Linked DNA regions of Homo sapiens: region 2 is linked to region 1. The links are contacts of gene promoters, found by promoter capture Hi-C in blood cells and fetal thymus (Javierre and others, 2016). All regions are on one chromosome and are shown on one strand. Each heading gives the region's core, a stretch centred on a gene start or on the middle of the fragment in contact. The rest is flanking DNA. Distances are from core to core; before and after follow the strand shown.

Region 1 (4,239 bases), core at 705-3,204:
ATAGGTCTGGTGTCTAACAAATATTTATTAAGGTAGCTGAAGAATCCAAAGGTACTCTTACATTTGCAAATGGTACATAACTTCAGTATAATAAGAAGTGAAGACAGGCCTGTCTGAATAAATAAAACAATGAAATATCCCTGAGTTATTTTTTTATCTTAGCTTCGCTGAACTTTATGTCTAAGTATCCAAGAGAACTTGCAGATAAGTAATCATTTTACAAAGAACTTAAAGCACCAAAGCCAACAGGTTTTTCCAGCATAGAATTATTTTGGTTTATAAGCATCCTTTTAAGGCCTGGCCTGTAACACATGCATGTTTCCTCATTCTCACAAAGCTGAAATTCAATCATCTTCAGGTTATATAAACTGCTTGGCTCTCATCCATTTATCAGGAAAGCTTCCAATTGGTAAGTGAAGAAGAAAGGCAAAGTGAAACGTTAAACAGAAATCTCAGTAATTTTAGAATGTGGAAAACAAACATCTACTTCAATATTAACAGCTTGCATATTAAAATGATAAATGAAGAGAGGAAAGACCTTTTTTTTGTAATCTATTTGCAAAGGCAAGTGTCTGTTACTCTTAGGGGACAGCAGGCTACCCCGACACTTTTTTTTTAAACCATGTATCAAACGTTTCTTTTATTAACCTAAAAACATTTGACTCACACATTAAAATGCCAATCAGGTAATTTCCTCTATAGTGAATCAATTCTTTGCACAAGCTTTATTTTATAAAATATACTCAATTTTGACATTAAGACATTAGATTCTGGTATATGTTAAATCAAGTTCTAACATCTATAGTACATATTTATAATTTTCTTTGCAAAGACTGATAATGGAGTTACAAAACATTCTAAATTCTCATTTCGTTAGGTTTTGTCCGGTCTTAACATTTATTCCAACTGGATCATTACCAAGACCTGACCTCCTTTTTGATCTCCTGTGAGTACAAATTAAGCTGGGAGAAGTTTCTGGAGCACCACCCTCTGTGCATATGTGGAACAAGTAATTTGGTTCAGACGAAACAGAATTATGTGGAGTCCTCGGCAGGTGGGTTGAGAACTACGCAGGTAGGACTCACTACTGACCGGTCACCACGTCATCCCAAATCCTTTCAACCCAAGACTCTACCTGATGGGAGCCCCCAAGCCACTTACCAGAACCACAGACAACAAAAATGAAGAGAGCCAATAACCAGGGTCCTACAGACGCCTTCTCTTCGGGGGCATTTCTCTGCAAAAGCGAAAATCCACCATTTCAGATGCAGAGAAACCACTCGGACCCCAGGCTCCCACGCCTGCACGCCGGTCGCCGGCCCCCTCACCTCACAGGTCTCCCCTTCCGTTCCCGAGCCCCCACAGTCTGGCGGTTCGCAGACTCGGGCCCCTACCCCTCCACGGCACCAGCCCACGGTCGGCCGGATCCGGGAGAAAACGCGACGCGGCCCCAGGGACCCGGACTCAGCTCCGGCTGCGGAACGCAGAGGGGCGCCCGCTCTTTCCTTACCGAGGTCTTGGCGACGTTGCCGCGCTGGGTGATGTTCTTGCTGTGCTTCTCGTTGGCCATACGGATCCTTTGCTTGGCGACCATCTTCGCGGCGCCACCACCTGCCCCGGCCACCCCTCGGACTCGCTCACTCGCCTGCCTCCTCTGGAGCCGCTGCGAGGCTCGGCTCGTGGTGCCCGCGCCGCCGGAGCGCCGAGGTTCTCAGGCCAGACGCTAGCTACGGCCGCTGGGCCTGGGCGCCGCAAGCGCGAGGTCTGAGCACAAGCCGGGCGCCGGCCGCCGACTGACTGACCGAGCGGGGCAGGTGCGCAGGAGGAAGAGAACTGGCCGCCGGGTCGTTCTCGCGCCGCCGTCGCCGCCGCTTTGGCCGCCGCCGTGAGCGCGGAGTGAAAGAGGAAGGAAACGCAACGCAACAACGGGAATGTGCAGCCCGCCGCCTCGATCTACTTTGGGTTCGGCTGCCAACGTCAGCACTAGACGGACTCCGCCCCGCGGAAGTGCGCGCCCCTCCCGCTGGAGAAGGAGGGCGAAAGCAGGCGCACCCTCCCAAGCTCTGTCAAGCGTCGCCCTAGATTTGCGCGTGCGCGTTTGGGCGCCTTTTCCGCGTCACTCCGTAACCGGAAGTGAATTGGCCCCGAGGCTGATGGCTCCGGAAACACCAATTCGCTGTCTCCACGCATGAGGAGACGTGTAGGGGCCGGGTTCGGCCCTGGTGAACTCTCACCCGAGCGGTTTCTCTTTCCGGGACAACATGGCGCCGTCCACGCCGCTCTTGACAGGTGAGTTCTGAAGAAGCGAGGGACTCTCTTTCTTCAGACTAGTTTCTTATTTTTGTCTTTGCCTTTGAGAACTACCCGAGGAGCCGGGGAGTCTGATCTGCCTTTTCTTGTGGCTTGCGGAAAGGCCAGACTGTTGGCTTTCTTGATATAGCGTGGCAATCGGAAGTGAAGTCTCCGCCTCTGGGCTTTCGTATTCCCCCTCCCTTTCACCCATCCATCATTCTTGCCTGCGGATTCATCTTCTACAGAAATAGAAGAAGGGGGAGAAAAACAATGTGCTAGTTGAATTTGTGACACATGGGTCTGCAATACTGGTGTTACACGGGCCCTTGTGAAGTCATTTAGGTCTACAATAAGAACAAAGACAAACATGAGTTAGTCCTCTAGAATGATCACGCACTTTAAATACACCTGGACTTAAGTAATTCCAGATTCTGGCCTTCCTGCCTTAATGAGGTTTGTAGGACTGAATAGGGAGAGTGGAGCTGTAATGCAGGTTTCAAATGATGAAGGTGTGGTTGGGAGAGGGTGTAGCAGTGAGCATGATAGAGATATTCTAGCAACATTTGATTTTGAAATGGTTATGAGCATATTAGAAATAGAACATTAGAGGACTCTTGAAATTTTGAAGCTAAAGACTGTAGTGTTGGAGGAGATAATAAACTTAGATTGGAAAATGCTGGGGAAGTTGCTTTACTAGGGTGTGGCTAAGAGTCTGCATATGAGTATTACGTAAGGAAAAGAGAGTCGGGAAGGAAAAGAAGGTTTTGGTTAAGTTCTGATAACTATATAGAAGGAAAAAGTCATTAAGAGAAAGGTTGTCTGCATTTAAGGAGGGAGGCTATTCCCTCCCTTCCCCCCCGCGAAAGGAACCTTAAAACATTTTTGCACTTTTTGCCAGTCTACATTTCTATTTTTACATTTTAAAATCTTTGTTATTAAGCGCCATGCCCACTGATGCTCAGTCTGTCTTCTGCAGTTTAGTCATCATTTATCAAACGCCGAGTATAATCTTCTAGATAATATACCAGGCAAAGACTGTTTAAAAGGCAAAGTTACATAATAAATTTTTTTTTAGGTTTGTAAAGGTAGCTTGTTATTCACAATTTTTAATACTAAATGCTTATTTGAACTCTAATGAAAAAATTACATTCTAAAATCTGATAAATAACCCCTCCTTTAAAAATGCCTACAGTAGGTAGTTCCTCTCTGCTTACAGGGTAGATTCCATCCTATGTAGCATAGTTATGTAACCATTTATAATCTTTGAATTGCTCTTGAGACTCATTTATTTCCTTGCCATCCCATCTTATTTGGTGCTCCATCAATACTGAACTGCTTCTGAGTCCCTTTGAACAACCTGTTTCTTCAGTCTAGTACTATCCTATGCCTCTTGTTGATTTGGCAAACTCTTTTTCATCTGTTGAAATTAAAATTCATTTTAGATATCATTGCTCTGTGAAGCCTTTCGTCACTCTACCCAGATAGAGTCAGTCACTTCCTGGGCTATTTTTGTACCTGAAATATATTTGAAATTTTATTTCACTTACTAAGTAGGATAATTAGACATTCACTTGCCTTTCTCCCCTGCTAGACTGTGAGTCCTTCAATGTCAGCGACAGGGTCTTATTCATATCTGTCTTCTCAGTACTAGTGCAGTGCCTGGTAGACAATAGATACTCTAAATCAGGGGTCCCCAACCCCCTGGGCCGGACTGGTACTGGGCAAGCATTACCACTTGAGCTTCCCCTCCTGTCAGATCAGTGGGGGCATTAGAGCCTCATAAGAGCGCAAACCCTATTTTGAACTGTGCATACAAGAGATCTAGATTAGATTTGTCTGTTTAGACTATCCTTTTAAATTAATGAAGGATAGCCACTTTATAGTAAATTAACCAAGGATGACAATTGTCTTACAGTGCTTAAAATCAGGGACTTTGTAAGAGCTTAA
Region 2 (4,239 bases), core at 641-3,140, 540 kb after region 1:
CGTCTAGGAGGCACCGGCCGCTTCCCACCGGCCGCATCCCTGCGTCTCGCGCCCCCTCCAGACCTGCCTCTGCCTGCACTGGCCCGGTCCGTGTCCAGGTGGCGGGGTCTGCGGGGCGCGTGGCGGCGGGGGAAGGGTCCCTGCCGGGGAAGAGAGGCGGGGGCGGTCCGCTCCACAGCTTCTTCCCGGGAGGGGAGGGCCACCCTCGCCTTGGGCGAGCACTTCAGCCACCAGCCTAGGCGCCAAGAAAAGTTTTTTTTTTTTTTTTTCCAGTGCCCCACCCCCACCCCCATCCTGCGCCCAGCTGGGGTGGGTTTGGGTCCATTGGTGAAAAAAGTCACACGTTCCCATCAGCTGCTCCTCCCCCTGGAGACAAGGTAGGGGGGAGCAGAGGAGGCAGGCGCCGCGGAGGACCCTGGCCGACCTCTAGTCCCTCCGCCGCCGCCACCGGAGCGGTGCGTCCCGGGGCTCGAGCGCAGCCGAGTACCCGCCGAAGGCTGTCCCCATCAGTGCGTGTCTGCTGCCGGGCAGCGGCAGCATCCAACCTGCTTTATTCCTCCTGCCTGCAGCGCCACAGCGAGCGAGCGAGCGAGGAGGGGGAGAGAGGGAGTCTGTCTGCAAAGTGCTGCTCCCTGGTGCTCAGAGGCGGCTGCTCCAGCTCCAACTCTCATTCATTTCGCCGGTTAACATGAGAGATCATGGCCGCCTTCGGGCTTCTCAGCTATGAGCAGAGACCGCTGAAGCGCCCCCGGCTCGGGCCGCCCGACGTCTACCCACAGGACCCCAAGCAGAAGGAGGTAAGGGCGCCGGCGGCCTCCCCGGCAACCGGGGCCGCGCTCTGCAGCACTGACCCGGGGCCAAGTTGGCCCAGCGGGCATCGCCGGCGCTGCGGTGGAAGAGGTCGGGGAGGGGGATTAGAGGCGGGGGCCAGGCTGGGGGTGCTGGGCGACCCCCCGGCGGCGGAGACCGAGCGGCTGTCAGTCCCCGCGCTCCACTGGGGCGCTCGCTTTCCATGTGCCGGTCGCTTTCCCGTTGCCGGGCCTTGCACGGCGCCGCCGGGCGCTTCTCGGGCTTCTTCCCTGCCGAAACCTTGCTCGCTCTCACCCGTTTCTGCCTGCTTTATTTTTCTTCTTGCCGCTTCGGTAAATCGTCGTAAACTTTTTGAAAAATGTTGGAATGCAGTGCATCCTACACTGAGGTCTTGCGTTTTGCTTTTGCTGGCCAGGGACGAAGGTGAGGGGGAAGCTTTTCAAATTTTCCAGTTTGGAATGGAAGTCGTTTTTATCGAAGTGATAAATATTTAGCTCTCTGAATATACCTCTGTAACCCTTCTGCCCTTTAAAAATTAAAATTAAGGAGAAACACTGATTTTCGTCTCTAGAGGCAATGGGCTTAATTGCTAGAGGCTGTTTTGTATACGTAAAAGCAGGCGAGTTACCTTGGGAGGGAATAGTTCCCAGGATTGCTTATTTCTTTGAATGAGATTAATTGGAGACACCTTGACTCTTGCACCAGCTACATTAGCTTCAATGGCTAGGGTAACCATGGCATTTTGTAGCTGTGTATCTGTTTGTCAGGAGTTAACAAGTAATTATGTAACAAGTCTCTAGTTATAATGATCACCTTTGGCTACACCATTTGCCCAGGGACTTGCCTTTTTTTTGTTTTTTTTTTGATCACCTGCTACCCAGCAGTGCTTTCTGAGTTTGCCAGCTGCAGTCCACCCATCTTCTGTTCAGCTAAACACGAACTGACCATATTTCAAAACTTACCTTTCTGAGAATCTAAAAACCCTCCATTAAAAGTTTGTGGGCCCACTGATAGCACAGAAAGGGCCTTGTAAACCAGGCAAGGAGGGGTCCTTAAGACTTTCCTTTTGATAAGTGTATCTTTCATTAGGAGAGTAAGTGCTTGTTCTGGCTAAACTGTCTTGCTTATAAAGTGTCTGAGAAGTAAGGAACAGCAACTCCTTTTAGAGGTTTAGCACACTAAATATGCTCTAGCATCAGTGGAGTCACGCAGATGAAAGCTGGGAAGGTTTTACAGGTGGTTTCCAGCACCAGCTTTACAGGATGGTAGAGGTTTGAGAAGATTTCCCAGATTTTTTTTCCTACCCGTTACCCCACCCTGCTACCCCAACTTAGAATGAAGTTAATGGTTAAGGACTGGAAATAATAGAGAAGCTGAGGATCAAGTGTACAGTTAATAGCTTAAAAATTATTGGGAGGAAATTCTTAAAGTTTTGATAGGGACAGGGATATTTTGTTGGTTGAACTTTATCATCTTGTAATTAATGTCTTACTCTGTCTTTCCAGAGGGCAGCATAATTGATGGCATGATGGCTTGGGGTGCTGTGTGGGCTTATTTAGCATTTGTTCTTCAGGCCAATGCTCATTTCACGACTGGGGCCTCTGATTCTGGAAAGAGTAATTTTGGATTTCAGGGTCTCACAACATTTTATGGAGTTCTAAAACTGGAAGCGACCTTAGGGACTACTTTCTATAACTTCCTTTTGACTAAGTGAAACAGGCCTGGGAAAGCTTGACTCGTTTAACCAAGGTGTATAGGTGAATAAGCAGAGGAGTTGTACCACCAAACCAGTATTTATGTCAAAACTAATACTGCTTTGAGGATGATTTATGCTAAATTATCTTCTGATGTTATCCCCTTTCCCCCAAGGCAGCCAATGTTTTAACTCTCCCAAGCAGACAGAGTTATGTGTGGCTGTAGCCAAATTTGGGTACAATATGGAACAGGTGCTTGGCTGTTCTTGGGTGGTTGGTGAGTAGAGTTTCCTAAGCTTTAGTTATTTATGTCCTACCTCCCTCAAGATTTCTACCCTACCCCTGTACCACCTGTACTTTTATTCTGAAGTTTTCTTTAAACTAATTTTTTAAGAAACTTTGTGTTTCCTGGGCAGTACTACACGTGGAGTCATGGATTTATTGAAATATATGTATATATAAAATTTATATCAAATCATGTTTACATACTATTTTTAATCTATTTGATATTACATGCACACACGTATATGATTATACATAATAAAATGAGACCATTACTATTAACACTTTAAAAGTTCATCTGTGTATCGAAAACAACAGTTGTGTTCCATTAGAGATAGCTGTGGTGGAAAATGCTGATTTAATGGAGGAAGTGTGGGCTTCCAAGTTGGGCCAACCTGGATTTAGCTTTTTTTTTTTTTTTGCAATTGTGTGGCCTTGGGCAAGTTGCATAGCCTCTCATTTGTAAATTAGTTTGTGCACTTCAGAAAAAATTTCAAACCAACATTTGTGTGAGAAAAGCCCTCCTCCTGGTAGAAGTTATTCTTGTCACCATAAATGTAATTTTTATTGTTGTTGTTAACCAGTGGTAATATATTTCAGAAAAGGGCTCCCAGAAGGTAGGGTGGAACCCATGAACGAAGACCCATGTGGAGAAGTATGGGGGTGGGGCGGGGGGGAGAATATGGAAGCTTTAACCTGCCTGATGGATTGGTTATATTTTTTTGAGAGCTTGCTGTGCATCAGCATCCTGTAGGACTTCATTATATATTGTGTTATAATACTTTGCTTCCTACAAACAGACTGTGCTCAAGCCTTTAAAGCAGGGAATCAGAAAACTGGCAGTCATCCTTGAGACCTCCTCCTTGCTTATACCCCATTCATCCATCAGCGTCTCTACATCCATGCGCACATCCTGTTCAGTTCCAAAATATATTTCCAATCCACCAGATGCTCTCCAGTTTCACCAGTATGCTTGGTCTCCCTTCTGGCTTCAGGGTGACTTCTCTTCCCCAGGGCTCCTGCATATTCTGTTCTGGTCTTTCTGCCTGGACACCTGTCTAGCCACCCCCTCCCACTTAGCATTCCACTCAGCTCTTCTCACCTTAGCCTGTGGTTAGAAAGGTAGGCTCTGGTGCCAGTCTGCTTGGGTTGGGACCCTGGCTGTCCTGTTTATGTGCCCCTTATTCTCCCTATACTTCATTTTCCTTCCATATAGAGTGAGAGTGATAATACTACTTAACTCATAGGGCTGTTGGAAGATTACCTAGATAGTATATGTAAAAAGCACTTAGAACAGAATCTGTCATAGATTCAGCCCCTATATGTTTGCTGTCATGAACTACTGTCATGCCTGCCCCTTCATCATTCAAGTCTCAGGCTTTTCTGATATATCATTTACAATTATATACTTATTTGCATCTTGCCATCTCCCCCTAATAGGTCAGTTTCATGA

What was found. The method cuts DNA at HindIII sites, captures the fragments that hold promoters and counts their contacts. A CHiCAGO score of 5 or more calls a contact.
Region 2: a contact is called between a fragment that was not itself captured here and the fragment with the promoter of SERP1 in region 1, in 2 of 17 cell types (fetal thymus and erythroblasts). The highest score is 6.7, in fetal thymus.

The regions. Positions count from the first base shown.
Region 1 is chr3:150,544,542-150,548,780 of GRCh38, forward strand. It overlaps SERP1 (stress associated endoplasmic reticulum protein 1), which reads right to left and starts at 1,955. Exons shown (of 3, transcript NM_014445.4): 1 at 1,511-1,955; 2 at 1,162-1,237. The coding sequence starts at 1,594. EIF2A (eukaryotic translation initiation factor 2A) reads left to right here and starts at 2,246. Exons shown (of 14, transcript NM_032025.5): 1 at 2,246-2,289. The coding sequence starts at 2,262. RefSeq lists enhancers at 1,466-2,096, 1,542-2,741, 2,014-2,553. The HindIII fragment of the contact is 4,802 bases long and covers 722-4,239 here.
Region 2 is chr3:151,086,229-151,090,467 of GRCh38, forward strand. MED12L (mediator complex subunit 12L) reads left to right here. Exons shown (of 45, transcript NM_001393769.1): 2 at 570-797. The coding sequence starts at 699. Among named protein-coding and RNA genes, the nearest start is that of MED12L, 2.7 kb to the left of the region's middle. RefSeq lists a silencer at 1-188. The HindIII fragment of the contact is 1,295 bases long and covers 1,244-2,538 here.